4 separate regions of the Homo sapiens genome follow, and regions 1, 3 and 4 are each linked to region 2. Evidence: promoter capture Hi-C in human tissues and cell types (Jung and others, 2019). All regions are on one chromosome and are shown on one strand. The core of a region is centred on a gene start or on the middle of the fragment in contact, and the rest is flanking DNA. Distances in the headings are between cores, read along the strand shown.

Evidence for each region. The method cuts DNA at HindIII sites, captures the fragments that hold promoters and counts their contacts. A contact is called where the count stands out against the background at its distance.
Region 1: a contact is called between a fragment that was not itself captured here and the fragment with the promoter of ZNF737 in region 2, in 1 of the 25 tissues and cell types used here (dorsolateral prefrontal cortex).
Region 3: a contact is called between a fragment that was not itself captured here and the fragment with the promoter of ZNF737 in region 2, in 1 of the 25 tissues and cell types used here (bladder).
Region 4: a fragment that was not itself captured here is called in contact with the fragment with the promoter of ZNF737 in region 2 in 1 of the 25 tissues and cell types used here (dorsolateral prefrontal cortex).

Annotation. Positions count from the first base shown.
Region 1 is chr19:21,044,684-21,049,521 of GRCh38, forward strand. The region is part of intron 4 of ZNF430 (zinc finger protein 430); the gene reads left to right. Among named protein-coding and RNA genes, the nearest start is that of ZNF430, 26 kb to the left of the region's middle. The HindIII fragment of the contact is 4,960 bases long and covers 1-4,252 here.
Region 2 is chr19:20,563,844-20,568,278 of GRCh38, forward strand. It overlaps ZNF737 (zinc finger protein 737), which reads right to left and starts at 1,938. Exons shown (of 4, transcript NM_001159293.2): 1 at 1,795-1,938. The coding sequence starts at 1,797. All of the region lies in intron 2 of LOC105372316 (a long non-coding RNA gene), which reads left to right. RefSeq lists enhancers at 1,371-1,530, 1,741-1,790. The HindIII fragment of the contact is 4,540 bases long and covers 1-3,781 here.
Region 3 is chr19:21,026,980-21,031,261 of GRCh38, forward strand. All of the region lies in intron 2 of ZNF430 (zinc finger protein 430), which reads left to right. Among named protein-coding and RNA genes, the nearest start is that of ZNF430, 8.5 kb to the left of the region's middle. The HindIII fragment of the contact is 6,523 bases long and covers 1-4,282 here.
Region 4 is chr19:21,008,888-21,013,240 of GRCh38, forward strand. No RefSeq gene overlaps it. Among named protein-coding and RNA genes, the nearest start is that of ZNF430, 9.6 kb to the right of the region's middle. The HindIII fragment of the contact is 6,310 bases long and covers 1-4,353 here.

The DNA of each region.
Region 1 (4,838 bases), core at 523-3,022, 480 kb after region 2:
AGAATTCAGCTGTAAATCCATCTGCCTCTGGGCATTTTTAGTTTGTAGGCTATTTATTACTTCCTCAATTCCAGAACTTCTTATTGGTCTATTCAGGATTCAAATTTTTCCTGGTTTGGTCTTGGGAGGGTGTTTGTGTCCAGTAATTTATCTACTTCTTCTAGCTTTTTCAGTTTATGTGCATACAGGTGTTTATAGTATTTTCTGATGGTTTGTATTTCTGTGGGGTCAGTGGTGATATCCTCTTTATGATTTTGTATTGTGTCTATTTCTTCTTCTCTCTTTTGTTCTCCATTACTCTAGTTAGTGTTCTATTTTATTAATGTTTTCAAAAAAAATAGCTCCTGGATTTATTGGTTTTTTGAAGGGTTTTTTGTGTCTCTATCTCTTTCAGTTTCACTTGGATTCTTCTTATGTCTTGTCTTCTGTTAGCTTTGGGGTTTGTTTGCTCTTGATTCTCTTGTTCTTTTAATTGTAATGTTAGGGTGTCATTTTGAGATCTTTCCAGCTTTTTGCTGTGGCTATGTAGTGCTATAAATTTTCCCCTTAACACTGCTTTAGCTGCATTCTACAGATTCTAGTACATAGTCTCTTTGTTCTCATTGGTTTCAAAGAATTTCTTGGTTTCTGATTTAATTTTATTATTTACCCAGAAGTCATTCAGGAGCAGGTTGTTCAATTTCCATGTACTTGTGTGGTTTTGAGTGAGTTTCTTACTCTTGAGTTCCAATTTGATTGCACTGTGGTCTGAGAGACTGTTATGATTTCAGTTCTTTTGCATTTGCTAAGGAGTATTCCTTCCAATTATGTGATCAATTTTAAAGTAAGTGCCATGTGACACTTAGGAGAATGTGTATTGTGTTGTTTTTGGCTGGAGAGTTCTGTAGATATCTATCAGGTCCATTTGACCCAAAGCTGAGTTCAAGTCCTGAATATCTTTGTTACTTTTCTGTCTCAATTGTTGGTCTAATATTGGCAGTAGGGTGTTAAAGTCTCCCACTATTATTGTGTGGGAGTTTGTTTAAGTCCCTTTGTAGGTCTCTAATAATGTGTTTTATAAATCTGGGTCCTCCTTGAATTGATTCCTTTAGCATTATGTAATGCCCTTCTTTTTCTGTTTTGATCTTTGTTGGTTTAAAGTCTATTTTGTCAGAAACTACAATTGCAACTCCTCCTTTTTTCTTCTTTTATTTGCTTGGTGAATTTTCCTCCATTCCTTCATTTTAAGCATGTGTGTGTCTTTGCATGTGAGATGGGTTTCTTGAATATGGCACACCAATGGGTCTTGACTCTTTAATCAGCTTGACATTCTGTGTCTTTTAATGAGGGCATTTAGCCCATTTAAATTTAAGATTAGGCCAGCCACGGTGGCTTATGCCTGTAATCCCAGCACTTTGGGAGGCTGAGGCAGGTGAATCACCTGAGGTCAGGAGTTCATGACCAGCCTGGCCAACATGGTGAAACCCCGCCTCTACTAAAAATATAAAAATTAGCCTGTCATGGTAGTGCTCATCTGTAATCCCAGCTGCTCAGGAAGCTGAGGCAGAATTGCTTGAACCTGGGAGGCAGATGTTGCAGTTAGTCAAGATTGTGCACTGCACTCCAGCCTGGGTGACAGAACAAGACTCCATCTCAAAAAAAAAAAAAAAAAAAGTTTAAGGTTAATATTGCTATGTGTGAATTTGATTATGTTTTCATGGTGCTATCTGGTTATTTTGAAGACTCTTTGATGTAGTTTTTTCATAGTGTCATTGGTCTTTGTACTTCAGTGTGTTTTTGTAGTGGCTAGTAATGGTTTTTTTCTTTCCATGTTTAGTGCTTCTTTCAGGAGCTCTTGCAAGGCAGGCCTGGTGGTGATGAATTCCTTCAGCGTTTACTTGTCTGAAAATGATTTTATTCCTCCTTTACTTATGAAGCTTAGTTTTCCTGGATATTCTTGGTTGGAAATTCTTTTCTTTAAGAATGTTGAGTAGTGGCCCCCAATCTCTTACGGCTTGTAGGGTTTCTGCTTAAAGGTCTGTTGTCAGTCTGATGAACTTTTGTCTATAGGTGATGTGGCGTTTCTCTCTGGCTGCCTTATCATTTATTCCTGAATTTCAATCTTGAAGAATCTGATTATTATGTGTCTTGGGGATGATCTTCTCATGGAGTATCTTACTGGGGTTTTCTGGATTTTCTGAATTTGAATGTTGGCCTTTCTTGTTAGGTTGGAAAAGTTCTTCTGGATGATATCCTGAAGGATGTTTTCTAACTTGGTTCCATTCTCCCTATCTATTTAAGGTACCCCAGTCAGTCATAGGTTCGGTCTTTTTACATAATCTCATAGACCTCAGAGATTTCTCTCATTCCCGTTTATTCTTTTTTCTTCAATCTTGTCTGCCTGTTTTATTTCAGCAAGATTGTCTTCAAGCTCTGAAGTTCTTTCCTTGCTTCGTCTACTCAGTTATTGATACTTGTGGTTGCGTTGTGAAGTTCTGATGCTGTGTTTTTCAGTTCCATCAGGTCATTTATGTTCCTCTCTAAATTGGTTGTTTTGGTTAACAGCTCCTGTAATGTTTTTCATGGTTCTTAGCTTCTTTGCATTGGGTTAGAACATACTCCATTAGCTCAGCAAAGTTCATCATTACCCACCTTCTGAAGCCTACTTTTGTCAATTTATCCACCTTAGCCACCGCCCAGTTCTGTGCCCTTCCTGGAGATATGCTGGGATCATTTGGAGGAAAGGAGGCACTCTGGCTTTTTAAGTTTTCAGCATTTTTTGGTTTATTCTTTTCATCTTTGTGAGTTTTTCTAGCTTCGATCTTTGAGGCTGCTGACCTTTGGATGGGATGCTTGTGAGGATTTTTTTGTTCATGCTGTTTTTGTTGTTGCTTTCTGTTTGTTTTTCTAACCATCAGGCCACTTTTCTGTAGCACTGTTGTGATTTGCTTGGGATCTACTTCAGACCCTATTTGCCTGGGTTTCTCTCACACCTGGAGGTGTCAACCAGTGGAGCCTGCAGAATAGCAGAGAGGACTGCTTGCTCCTTCCTCTGGGGTCTTTGTCCCAGAAGGGGAATGATCTGATGACAGTGGGAACACTACTTTATAAGTTGTCTGACGATGTCTGTTGTGGGGGTCTCACCCAGTCAGGATGCATGAGATCTGGGAACCACTTAAGAAAGCACTCTGGCTGCACCTTGGTGGAGTGGCTGTGCTGCACTGAGGGAAATTCCATACATCTGTACTGCCTGGATTGCTCAGAGCCAGCAGGGGGAAAGACTAAGTCTGCTGATCTGCAGAAACCACCTCATTGTTCCTGTTTTATGTATTTCTTGTAGATAAGTTTTTTCTCATTTCCTGTTTTACTACCTTTATTTTTGTTAACTTTATCGTTACATGCTTTGATTATTTTTTCATTTTTTGCATACTTTTTATAAATATTATGTAATCACCTTGAAGTATAATGTAATCATCTTAAAATGGAGATTACATAAAACATCTTTTTTTTTTTTTTTTTTTTTTTTTTTTTTTTAGTATTTATTGATCATTCCTGGGTGTTTCTCGCAGAGGGGGATTTGGCAGGGTCATAGGACAATAGTGGAGGGAAGGTAAGCAGATAAACAAGTGAACAAGGGTCTCTGGTTTTCCTAGGCAGAGGACCCTGCGGCCTTCCGCAGTGTTTGTGTCCCTGGGTACTTGAGATTAGGGAGTGGTGATGACTCTTAACGAGCATGCTGCCTTCAAGCATCTGTTTAACAAAGCACATCTTGCACCGCCCTTAATCCATTTAACCCTGAGTGGACACAGTACATGTTTTAGAGAGCATGGGGTTGGGGGTAAGGTTATAGATTAACAGCATCCCAAGGCAGAAGAATTTTTCTTAGTACAGAACAAAATGGAGTCTCCTATGTCTACTTCTTTCTACACAGACACAGCAACAATCTGATTTCTCTATCTTTTCCCCACATTCCCCCCTTTTCTATTCGACAAAACCGCCATCGTCATCATGGCCCGTTCTCAATGAGCTGTTGGGTACACCTCCCAGACGGGGTGGCGGCTGGGCAGAGGGGCTCCTCACTTCCCAGAAGGGGCGGCCGGGCAGAGGCGCCCCCCACCTCCCGGACGGGGCGGCTGGCCGGGCGGGTGCTGGCCCCAACCTCCCTCCTGGACGGGGTGGCTGGCCGGGCAGGGGCTGCCCCCCACCTCCCTCCCAGATGGGGCATAAAATATCTTAAAGTTAAAAAAATAAGGCCAAGCATGGTGGCTCACACCTGTAATCCCAACACTTTGGGAGGCTGAGATGGATAGATCACCTGAGGTCAGGAGTTTGAGACCAGCCTGGCCAACATGGTGAAACTGTCTCTACTAAAAATACAAAAATTAGGTATGTGGTGGAGGACATCTGAGACTGAGGCAGGATAATCACTTGAACCCAGATGACAGAGGTTGCAGTGAGCCGAGATTGCGCCACTGCACTCCAGCCTGGGTGACAGAGCAAGACTCCATCTCAAAAAAAAAAAAAAAAAAAAAAAAGTAAAAAAGATATATTTTAACTTCTTAAACTTTAATTAAATACAAAACCTATACTGCTATGTTTTCCAGTTTGTTATTGATACTACAAATTATATTATGTATCTATTAACAGATTTATATCTTGTATTTTTATATCTACAGAACTTTAACGGTTTTATGCACCATTATGATAGTAAAAAATTCTATATGTATCTGTATATTTATATTTAATAGGGAGCTTTATATATGGTTTTATGATGCTGTCTAGCATCATTTTATTTTTCAACAAAATGGATTCATTTTAGCATTTCTATTTGTTTATATGCAGAGTCTGTGTTTCTCAGA
Region 2 (4,435 bases), core at 688-3,187:
AATATATGTATTATTTTATTATTTATCTTAAAAATAAGTAGGCCTGGTGCGGCAAATCATGCTTGTAATCCCAGCACTTTGGAGGGCCGAGGCAGGTAGATCACGATGTCAGAAGATCACGACCATTTTGGCCAACATGTTGAAACCCCCTCTCTACTTAAAATACAAAAGAATTAGCTGGGTGTGGTGGCACGTGCCTGTAATCCCAGCTACTCAGGAGGCTGAGGCAGGAGAATTGCTTGAACCCAGGAGGTGGAGGCTGCAGTAAGCCGAGATCACGCCACTGCACTCCAACCTGTTGACAGAGCGAGACTCTGTTTCAAAAAAAAAGTAAATAAATAAAATAATGTAGTAAAAAATTAGTCATATGGGAACACTTCTAGAAGGTACCATGTTTCATCACATATAATTTAGCATTTAACTCAGAACTCAACAGGATATAGAACTGAGATATTCACTGTCACAAATTTCCCCTGCAAAAAGAGGAACTAATGTGTTGACGAATCTATGTAACTCATCAATTATCTACCACATTTTCCTGTGGAAATATATTCATTGTCTACAGCCAAAATGGAAGAGAGATTTTCCCTATTTTTTTCCTTGGTAACTAGCATTCCTGGCTAACATACTGAAACTCCATCTCTACTAAAAATACAAAAATTAGCTGGGCGTGGTGTCGCGTGCCCATAGCCCCAACTACTCCAGAGGCTGAAGCAGAAGAATGCTTGAACCTGAGAGGCGGAGGTTGCAGTGAGCCGAGATCTGACACTGCACTCCAGCTCTGGCGACAGAGCGAGACTCCGTCTCAAAAAAAAAAAAATAAAAATAATAAATTGAGGAACATGGGGTACACTTGAGGCCTTGCTTGAGACACATGTGGAAAATGCCAGGGAAAATCAGTCCGCTGTGGCGTGTGAAAATAATTAAGTGGCAGGCAATTAGACTGAAGAAGCTCTAGTCCCTGGATTTCTACCTCAAAAAAAAAAAAATCTAAGCTCATGTGCATTTTTTGGGAAATTACTACATTAGGGGAAACAAAATTCAGGCTTAAGCAACTATAAACTGCCAATTAAACTGTAATTACATAACCAGGAATTTTTTTTTTTTTTTTGAGACGGAGTCTCACTGTCGCGCAGGCTGGAGTGCAGTGGCAAGATCTCAGCTCACTGCAACATCCACCTCCGGAGTTCAAGCGATTCTCTCACTTCTGCCTCCCGAGAAGCTGTGATTACAGACATCTGTCATCACACCCAGCTAATTTTTGCATTTTTAGTAGACATGGGGTTTCCCCATTTGGGCCAGGCTTATCTTGAAGTCCTGACCTCAAGTTATCCGCCTGCCTCGGCCTCCCAAAGTGCTGGGATTACAGGCGTGAACGACTGCGCCCGGCCCCATAAATTTTGAATAGCAGAAAACAGAAACTGTGAACTCCACGGACCAAAGCTCTTCCCATTCATGAACCTGCACCCCGAGTCAGGATTCTCCCCTGACGACCCTCTGGTGGTCCCTGCACATTCTGGGAGAGACGGGAGGCTGCGGTTGCAGAGCTGCCCACGGAGCGCTCCAGGCCAGAGCAGTCACTACGCAGGGAAGACACAGGACGCCAGGGGGCCCGGCTGTCAGCGTAGCCGCCAAATTATGGCTGAACGGGACTGAGGCCGAGCTGGGCAAGGAGAACTCAGGGTGCAGATTGTGGAGCTGACTGCGCAGAGGCCTGAGTCCCGCCACAGCCACTTCCCACCGGTTCCAACCAGCCTATCCCCCTCTCTCGGGATGTCGGACCGGCACTCTCACCATTTCTAGGCTTCCAGGGGCTCCCGGGCGTCTTAGCTGTGGATCTCCCAATACCTGCAGGACACAGGGCCACAGAGGCTGGGCCTCTAGGAGCAGAGGACACACAGCAGTGAAGACAAGACCTGGAGCTCCGGCTGCAGAGACAAAGGCCCCGCAAAACCCGGAAGCCTTCCGCTTCACTCTGGCTGCGTGCCTGATTGGACGGCTTCCAGCCCAGCGTCCCTGATTGGATAATGCTTAAATCCCCGCCCCCTCAGGCCCTGAGTGACAGAAGATATGATCAGATGCTGGGTTAAGTGAACAAAGAGTGCCAGCCTAAGCAGCTGGCTTTTCAAACAGTGCTTCCTCCCTGAGCTGAGCCAGGCCCACCCCAGAGCATGGGAATATTTTATCTCTTGTTTACTCTCTTTCTTGTTGAATGTATTAAAAAGGTGAACAGAAGTATTTTGCTGTCATTAATAATACATAAAATTTTTGTTCAACAGAAAATCAACTTTTACTTTGGTAATGGTAAAATCTATTAAAGCTAATTTTAATAAAACCTTATAAATAAATCAAATTTGTCATTTTTGAGCACTCCAGATTTACATATATATTTTGTAATATCTCGTAATTTTAAAAAACTATTTATATTTTATTTTTGTCCACATTCTTTTTATTTTTTCAATTTGAAACAATCTTTAATTTCCAACAGCTATAGGAGATAGAAATCATTTAGAGGCAGGCACGGATAGTTCACGCTGGTAATTCCAACACTTTGGGAGGCCAAGGTGAGCAGATCACTTGAGGTCAGGAGTTCAAGACAAGCCTAGCCAACATGGTGAAACCCCATCTCTAATAATAACTAATAAATAATAATAATAACTAATAATATAAAAAGTTACCTGGGTGTGGGGGTGCACATCTGTAGTCCCAGCTACACCGGAGGCTGAGGCAGGAGAATCACTTGAAGCCAGGAGGCGGAGGTTGTGTAACAGCCCAAGGGGTTTATTTTACCCTTTGCCTAGACAGAGCCGATTCATCAAGACAGGGGAATTTGTGGAGGAAAAGTCACATATTAAATCTGAACTCAATTGAATGTGGACACAAACAATTGTCACCAAGTCCCAGAACAGGTTGTGTGAGCCCCTGAGGTGTTCATCCAGCGCTGTATTGAAGAAATCTCTATTTCAATCTATTCCTATATATTAGTTGTTGAAAAACAATAGACAATCACAAAAAAAGGTTGACCTTTTTGTGTTCCTTGAGGCAAGTCGTGAAGGGCTCTCATCACTGGGCCTTATGCCAAACAACTCGTTACAAAAGAGCTAAGGTCCCAGACCGCCCTGAAGCTTCATAAGACCTCTCCTTGTCTGTGTACGATGGACGGGTGGCTGACTCTAGAGCTGTGGCTGTTGCCTCCCTCTCTGGTGGTGAATCCCCCATAGTCTGGTGAGGGAAAATATATATATATATATATATATATATATATATATATCTTTTCCCATTTCCTCGTCTTATTAAGATTGGCTTATTACATCAATCTGCTTATTATATTTATTTGCTTATTATATCATTTGCTTATTATATTATTACTTTATTATGTCTGCATTGCCATTTACGTGGGATAAAAGTTGTTTACCCTTAATGGTATTGTGTGTGTGTCTTTGTTTCTCCCCTCTCACATTTGCCTCACAGAACATTTTTGGCATCACAAATAGGATTTGAAAACAAAAGTGTACCCCTTTTTGACTAGAAGGACAGGGCTGGAGGGCTCAGGGACTTCCCATATCCTGGGATGGGAACTCCCCCAGTTCTCCCTCTTGGTGATTAAATGGTCAAGGGGAACTGGTTTTTGTGGGAATTGGGAATCTAAATTAGTGCAGTTTAAACCTTTGACTGTGCGGGAAGTGCTGCGGGGGATTCCAGTCAGCAAAGGAGATGCTGAGGGATCTCCCGGAGTGGATGGTGTTTGCTTACTGCTTATAAGTTAATGTATCGTGATAGGGGCTGGTTGCTACAAGATAAATGTAAGCGGAAAAGGAAAATGCTAATCTGACTTCCAGACTGGCCCAATGCCAGTCAATGTCTTGACTGATAAAGCTCAAAGCTATCAGCCTATCGCTGAAAAAAGCAGCTGTCCAGGTGGCCCAGTCAGGATAAAACTGAAGAACTAGTCAGCCGGGGCTTCGAGCAGGTAAAAACCCAGTTCCTATTTCAAAAATGGGAAATTAACCCTAGTAAAATTCAAGGACCTGCACAAAGTATAAAATTCCTTGGCATTTTATGGAATGCAAATAAATAGTCCATTTTACCAAAGGCTAAGGCTAAAATACTAGATTTTGCAACCCCTACCACTAATGTACTGGCTTGTTTGGTTTCTGGAGACATCATATTCCCCACTTGGGTAACATTTTACAACCTCTGCATGCAGCCACTAGAAAACGCTATGACTTTCACTGGGGAGAGAAAGAGAGCATGGCCTTTGAACAAGCTAAACAAGCAGTGCAACTGGCCCTGGATCTATGGCCCATACGGGATGGGCCAGTAGAACTGCAAGTAACTGTCCTAGATCAATATGCTAATTGGAGCCTTGGGCAGAAACAAGATGGGAAGAGGGTACTTTTCGGGATTTGGACCCAGAAACCACCAGAGGGAGGAA
Region 3 (4,282 bases), core at 1,083-3,582, 460 kb after region 2:
CCACCATGCCAAGCTAAGTTTTGTATTTTTAGGAGAGACGGGGTTTCACCATGTTGGCCAGGATGGTCTCGATCTCTTGACCTCGTGATCTGCTCACCTCAGCCTCCCAAAGTGCTGGGATTACAGGCGTGAGCCCCCATGCCCGGCAGATGCCTTTTATTTTCATCTCTTCTCTGATTGCTCTGGCCAGGATTTCCAATTTTATGTTGAATAGGATGTTTGAGAGAAGGCATCCTTATCTTGTGCCAGTTTTCAAGGAGGAATGCTTCCAGCTTGTGTCCATTCAGTGTGTTGGCTGTAAGTTTGTCGTTGATGTCTCATTGTTTTGAAGTATATACCTTCAATGCCTAGTTTGTTAAGGGTTTTAAACATGAAAAATGTTAAATTATATTGAAAGTATTTTTAGCATCTATTGAGATAATCTTGGTATTTGTTATTAGTTCTCTTTATGTGATGAATAACATTTATTGATTGTATATGGAACCAACTTGCCTCCCAGAGATGCAGCCTACTTGATTATAGTGGATTAGCTTTTTGATGTTCTTCTGAATTCAGTTTCCCAGTATTTTGTTGATGGTATTTTCATCAATGTTCATCAAGGATATTGGCTTGAAGTTTTCTTTTTTTTTTAATCTCTGCCAGGTTTTGATATCAGAATGATGCTATTCTTATATATAATGAGTTGAAAAGGAGTCCTTTCTTTTCAATATTTTGAAGTATTTTTAGTAGAAGTGGTACTAGCTCTTTTTTGTACATCTGGTAGAGTTCAGCTAGGAATTTGTCTGGTTCTTTGCTTTTTTTTGGCTAGTAGGCTATTTCTTACTAATTCAATTTTGGAGCTTGTTATTGGTCTATTCAGGGATTCAGTTTCTTATTTGTTCAGTCTCTGGAAAATGTGTCTTTGCTCCCAGGTTACTATTCTCAAGCTTGGCCCAAATAAACTCTTATATTCATGTTGCCTCAGCTTTTTCCTTTTAGGTAGTCATATCACGTAGAATGAGCTAGAGCAGCCTCTATGAGGGGATCTCTCCTTTGATTGTACTCCACTTGCTGTAACACCCAAGAATGCAGAGTGTGGTTGATCCTACCTAGAATCTGCACATAAGGTCTGGCCTCTTCCTGGGATTTACAGGACACGGCCAGACTTTAGGTTGAGAATGTACAGAAAACCAACAGGAGGCATTTTCTCCATTGTGAGTTGTCAACATAGACATCTTAAAGCCCCCTTTGACAGTGTGGTTCTTTAAGCTTTTCAGATCTTGTTCAGTGATTTGCCACAGTTATGTGAGAGGCTCCAGATATAAATAGAATCTGATGACAGAATCAGCATTTTAAGAGTGAGATATCAAAGTCATAATGTATCCATAGCCATGACCACAACTATACCTACCTGTAAAATGTGATACTGGAGTAGAGTATTCTTGTCTTTCTCCTTACCCAAAAGCTAGCAAATTGGGACAAGTGATTAGGTTCTGGAGCTCCACCAGGCCATTTTCTATTTAGAATCAGCCTGAATCTCTCCAGCCTGGATTATCATTGGGCCATCAGCCCAGGGTCACTAAGAACCCTCTCACAATCACCTAGACGTCTTTGAGACATTTGAGGATGTCCAGGGCAGAATTGTGTCAGGCTGACAAGAGTGGTTAATTCTGCTTCTGGCTTGGTGTAAGAGAAATGAGTCATTCTGTGTGTGTGTGGTTTTTTTAGGGTTTTTTTTCTTTTTTTAGACGGAGTATTGCTCTATCGCCCAGGCTGGAGTGCAGTGGCGCGATCTCGGCTCACTGCAACCTCCGCCTCCCGGGTTCAAGTGACTCTTCTGCCTCAGCCTCCCAAATAGCTGGGAATACAGGCACTTGCCACCATGCCTGGCTAATTTTTGCATTTTTAATAAAGACAGGGTTTCACCATATTGCACAGGCTGGTCTTGAACTCCTGACCTTGTGATCCGCCCACCTCAGCCTCCCAAAATGCTGGGATCACAGGTGTGAGCCACCATGCCTGGCAATTCTGTGTTTTTTTCTCCCCTTATACAAGAGATAACTTTGGTTGGTACCCAGATGAGAGTTTCTCAAGTTTCCTGATACTTGGATGAAAGCAATAGGAGGTCTGGTGACTCAAACAGATAAAGTAATTGTTTTCATTTTATATGGCCATTCAAAAAACAGATGAAGCAGTCATGATCCTTACTATCCAGGAACATGTCTAGACTAACAACTGGATACATGGGTGAATTAAGCATTATATGGTTGGTACAATGAATAGATGTGTCCAAAAAAAATTGGGGCCACTGTTTTATATTGTTACTTCTGATACCATCAGCTGAGGAGATATTTATGGAGTGAAGATTTGTTATTATTTGTGTTTCCTTTACTTTGCTAAGAATATATATTTATCTTCTAGTATAATTATTCTAAAGAACTTTAATAAATTTGTTTAAATTGCTTATTAGTATATGTTATAAAATTGACAGGGCAGTGGCAAAAATAGATTAAAGTTACATAAGCTCTGGGATTTAAGATTCTCTTATGTAAGCTTAGGAAAAACAGAACTGGAAATACCTTGGTGGCAGAGAGAACATAATTCTACATAGGGTCCTTTCCCTGCCCAAATTCTGTTCAGATTCACGTTTTTTGGAGGCCTTATTTATGTCTGGCCCCGCTCTGGAGCCTTACCTCACAAAACTGATTTATAAAAATCAGAGTTTTGGCTGGGTGTGGTGGCTCACACCTGTAATCCCAACACTTTGGGAGGCCGAGGCAGACAGATCATGAGGTCGAGAGTTTGAGACCAGCCTGACTAACATGGTGAAACCCCGTCTCTACTAAAAATACAAAAATTAGCCGGGCGTGGTGGCACATGCCTGTAATCCCAGCTGCTCAGGAGGCTGGGGCAGGAGAATCGCTTGAACCCGGGAGGCGGAGGTTGCATTGAGCCAAGATTGTGCCACTGCACTCCAGCCTGGTGACAGAGCGAGACTCCATCTAAAAAAAAAAAGACTGGAGTTTTGTCTGGTGAGTCCTGCTGCTTTTCTAGAGCTGGTGCTCACAATTTTCTGAAACCCAAAAACAGATAAATGACAGAAATAAACTATTTATTTTAGGATCTTATTTTTTGAATTTGTATTAAAACCAGTGCTTACAGAAACATTCCATTTAGCACCTTGTTTTCTGTTTCTGCCAATCTAGCAGTTGCTCCACAAGCCACAAACAAGTAAATGTATACACAATAAAAATTTCTCTAAACTACATTAAACTTTTTCTATGTTCTTCTCATCTGCCTGTATTTAACTTTTATTCTATACCTTTAAAACAAAATCAATGACAGAGAAACAGAGGGAGAAATAAAAATGCTGAACCCTTTATCTAAGTCCTGGGAATTATTGAACACTTAGTATCAACTTCCAGGGTGTTATTAGGATTAAATCACAAAATGTGTTATTCCCAGCACAGTGCTCTGTAACATATCCTTGAGCACATAGTACCTGCTTAATAAACATTGCATTTGTATATGTGTACATGTTATTTTCCAAAGGCAGATTTATTCAGACATTGCCGCCTTCTGTTTGTTCTGTAAACTTTAAAGAGCCAGCGAAGAATATAAAAATTTAAGATGGAGATTGGTTTTATTTGTACCAGAAGTATTTGTGTTGTGACAAGAGTGCTAAGTGTAAGGGACTCTGTGCTGTACCTGCTTCTCTAACTAATGCTAATGAGCCCAGGGGGAACAACATCAGCATTGACAGGGAACTTGTTTGAAACACGCATTCATGAACCCTTTTCAAACTTGCAGATCCACATTACGTAGAGTGGGGCCAAAATTACCAAACGAGTTTTAAGCTCATTAAAGTTTGAGAGGCAGTGCTTAGCTAAGTGGTTATCAGCCCCGTCTTGTTTTTTTTGTTTTGTTTTGTTTTCTGTTTTTGAGACAGGATCTCACTCTGTCACCCAGTCTGGAGTGCAATGGCATAATCTCGGCTCAGTGAAACCTCCGCCTCCTGGGTTCAAGCCATTCTTATGCCTCAGCCTCCTGAGTAGCTGGGATTACAGGCACCCGCCACCATTCCTGGCTAATTTTTTGTGTTTTTAGTAGAGATGAGGTTACACCATGTTGGCCAGGCTGATCTTGAACTCCTGACCTCAGGTCATCCATGTGCCTCGGCCTCCTAAAGTGCCAGGATTACAAGTGTGAGCCACCGCGCCCGGCCTCTGCCCAGTCTTCTAATTAGGATTACATGGCAGAAATCTCTGTACTTATGCCCTTTCCATGGATTTCGTTTATTGTT
Region 4 (4,353 bases), core at 1,559-4,058, 450 kb after region 2:
ACCCACAGACCCTGTAGGGCTGGGCCCTACATAACTGTGTAGAGGTATTAGACTCAGTTTATTCTAGTGGGCCCAACCTCCGAGACCATCTTGAGTATCAGGAGACTGTGAGCTATACTTGGATGGGAGCAGCTTTGCCAACCTCTGCAAAGTGACTCTGAAAAAGATGGCAAGCCCTGCTCCAGTCACACCTGGAAGCTGACTGGTTCCCGCATCACCAAAGCATGAGGAAATTAATCACAGGACTCATTTCCCTGAAAATTTGGACTTGTACAGTAAGGACTTCAACTGACCTTCCTCAGACTGAGGACTGTTCCCAATATATACATCAAGTCACTGAGGTAGGACAAAAGTTTGCTACAGTCCTATTATTTTATGGTTATTTTAAGTGTACCAGGACTCTAAAAGGAACTTGTTTGTATAATGCTATTCTATACAAGGTATGTAGCCCACGAAATGACCAGCCTGATGTGTGCTATAACCCATCTTTTTTCCTACTGCCCATAAAAACAGGCGAACTTCTAGGTTTCCTGGTCTATGCTTCCCGAGAAAAGAGAAGCATAGCTATAGGCGACTGAAAAGATGACAAGTGGCCCCCTGAAAGAATCATACAGTACTATGGGCCTGCCACTTAGGCACAAGACAGCTCATGGGGATACCGAATCCCCATTTATATGCTCAACTGAATCATACGATTACAAGCTGTCTTAGAAATAATCACTAATAAAACTGGCAGAGCTTCAACTGTTTTAGCCCAGCAAGAAACCCAGATGAGAAATGCTATCTATAAATATAGACTAGCCCTAGACTACTTGCTAACAGCTAAAGGAGGGGTCTGTGGGAAATTTAACCTTACTAATTGCTGTCTACACATAGATGACCAAGGGCAAGTAGTTGAAGACATAGTTAGAGACATGACAAAACTGGCACATGTGCCTGCGCAAGTGTGGCATGGATTTAATCCTGGGGCCATGTTTGAAAAATGGTTCCCAGCACTAGGAGGATTTAAAACTCTTATAGTAGGAGTTATAATAGTAATAAAAACATGCTTACTGCTCCCTTGTTTGCTATGTACTTCTTCAAATGATAAAAAGCTTCATCGCTACCTTAGTTCACCAAAATGCTTCAGCACAAGTGTACTATATGAATCACTATCGATCTGTCTTACAGGAAGACATGAGTAGTGAGGATAAAGGTGAGAACTTCCACTAATGAGAGAGGTTCTCAAACGGGGGGAAAAAGGGAGGAGACCACCCCTCATATTGTCTTATGCCTAGTTTCTGCCTCCAAAGAAAGAAGAAGTGAAAACTGAAAGGCAGAAATGGAATCCACAGGCAGATAGCCCAGCATCATGCCCTGGGCCTGCTAGTTAAAAATCCACCCCTGACCTAACTGCTTGTGTTATCTATAGATTTCAGACATTGTATGGAAAAGCATCATGAAAATCCCTATCCTGTTCTGTTCTGTTCTGACTAGTGGTACATGCAGCCCCCAGTCACATACCCTCTGCTTGCTCAATCAATCATGACCTTTTCAGGCGGACCCCGTTATAGTTGTAAGCCCTTGAAAGGGACAGGAATTGCTCACTCAGGGAGCTCAGTTTTTGGAGATGTGAGTCTTCCAATGCTGCCAGCTGAATAAAGCCCTTTCCTTCTGCAACTCGGTGTCTGAGGGGTTCTTGTCTGTGTCTCATCCTGCTACAACAGAGGTGGGCAGATCACGAGGTCAGGAGTTCCAGACCAGCCTGACCAACATGGTGAAACCCCGTCTCTAGTAAAAATACAAAAATTAGCCAGGCGTGGTGGTGCAAGCCTTTAATCCCAGCTACTCAGGGGGCTGAGGCAGGAGAATCACTTGAACCCGGGAGGCAGAGGTTGTAGTGAGCCAAGATTGCGCCATTGCACTCTAGCCTGGTCGACAGAGCAAGACTCCATCTCAAAAAAATTAAAAATAGGCTGGGTTGGTGGCTCATGCCTGTAATCCCAGCACTCTGGGAGGCTGAGGTGGATGGATCACCTGAGGTCGGGAGTTCGAGACTAGCCTGACCAACGTGAAGAAACCCTATCTCTACTAAAAATACAAAATTAGCCAGGTGTGGTGGAGCATGCCTGTAATCCCAGCTACTCAGGAGGCTGAGGCAGGAGAATCGCTTGAACCCGGGAGGCAGAGGTTGTGGTGAGCCAAGATTGTGCCATTGCACTCCAGCCTGGGCAACAAGAGTGAAACTCTATCTCAAAAAATAATAATAAATAAAAATAATAAAAAATAATAATGAATAAGTAAATAAAATAAAAATAAGGGATAAATATGCAAGGAAATAGCATAAAGAAAAAACAATCAGAACCTCAGGAAATATTGGACACACTTATAAAAATGCAAAATGCTCTGGAAAGTCTCAGCAATAGAATTGAACAAGTAGAAGAAAGAAATTCAGAGATCAAAGACAAGATCTTCAAATTAACACAATCCAGCAAAGACAAAAAAAAATGAACAAAACCTTAAAGAAGCCTGAATAATTGGTTTTTCTGAAAAAGAAGAAAAATCTAAAAGTTTGGAAAACATATTTGGGGAAATAATTGAAGAAAACTTACCTGGTTTTGCCAGAGGCCTAGACATTCAAATACAAAAAGCACAAAGAATACCTGAGAAATTCATCACAAAAAGATCATCACCTAATCACATTGTCATCAGGTTATCTAACGTTAAGATGAAGGAAAGAATCATATCATATATACATATATATATATACACATCATATATATATATCATCATATACACACACACACACACACACACACACACACACAATGGAATACTACTCAGCCATAAAAAGGAATGAATTAACATTTGCAGTGACCTGGATAACATTGGAGACTATTATTCTAAGTGAAGTCACTCAGGAATGGAAAATCAAACATTGAATGTCCTCACTGAGATGTGGGAGCTAAGCTATGAGGACACAAAGGCATAAGAATGATGCAATGGACTTTGGGGATGTTGGGGAAAGAGTAGGAGGGGGATGAGGGATAGAGACTACCAATATGGTGCAGTGTATACTGCTCTACTGCTCAGGTGATGGGTGCAACAAAATCTCACAAATCACCACTAAAGAACATACTAATGTAACCAAATACCACCTGTAGCCCAGTAACTTATGGGGAAAAAAAAGAGACTTAAAAAAATATATATATATACAAAAATTAGCCAGGCATAGTGGTGCATGCCTGTAGTCCCAGCTACTTGGGAGGCTGAGGGGAGAATCACTTTAACCTGGGAGGCGGAGGTTGCATTGAGCCAAAATTGTGCCATTGCACTCCAGCCTGAGCCACAGAGTGAGACTCTGTCTCAAAAAATATATATAAAAAATAAAACTAGTAATCCAGGCAAAACAAAAATGAATTATACATTATGAAAATACTCTGCCACATTTTTATACTAAATCAGCCAGTACTGAAATTTTTTAGATGTGCCATTTGAGTAAACTGTGTGTTCCAAGTCAGATTACCTATGATAACCTCTCAGTTATCAGTGCTATGAACCTAAATTGAAGAAACAAACTTGATATTTAAGAGGACATAAATTTAATGTTAAGTGTGAACTCATAGAGAACCTAGACAGCAGTGACTTTTTTCATTCCTGAGTTCTTAAAGCTTCCTTTATCAAAAGCACTGCATTTTATCACTCGCCACAGAAGAGATAAAAAATAGTCTAAGTTGGCGGGGCACAGTGGCTCATGCCTGTAATCCCAGCACTTTCAGAGGCCGAGGTGGGCAGATCACCTGAGGTCAGGAGTTCAAGACCAGCCTGACCAACACGGAGAAACTCTGTCTCTACTAAAAATACAAAATTAGCTGGGTGTGGTGGTGCACTCCTGTAATCCCAGCTACTTGGGCGGCTGAGGCAGGAGAATCACTTGAACCTGGGAGGCAGAGGTTGCAGCGAGCTGAGATGGTGCCATTGCAGTCCAGCCTGGGCAATAAGAGTGAAACTCCATCTCAAAAAAATACATAATAATAATCTAAGTTAAATATAAATTAAATGTGTGTGTGTGTGTGTGTGTGTGTGTGTGTGTGTGTGTGTGGTGACTGTCCTAACTACCAAAATAGGTTAGGACCGTTTTTTTCCTCTCAAACATATAATCCTGAGAAGACAATCCAAACTTCATGTACACTTTGGGAGACCAAGGCGGGTGGATCACAAGGTCAGGAGATTGAGACCATCCTGGCGAACACGGTGAAACCCCGTCTCTTCTAAAAATACAAAAAAAAAAAAAAAAAATTAGCCGGGCATGGTGGCAGGCACCTGTAGTCCCAGTTACTCGGGAGGCTGAGGCAGGAGAATGGCATGAACTCG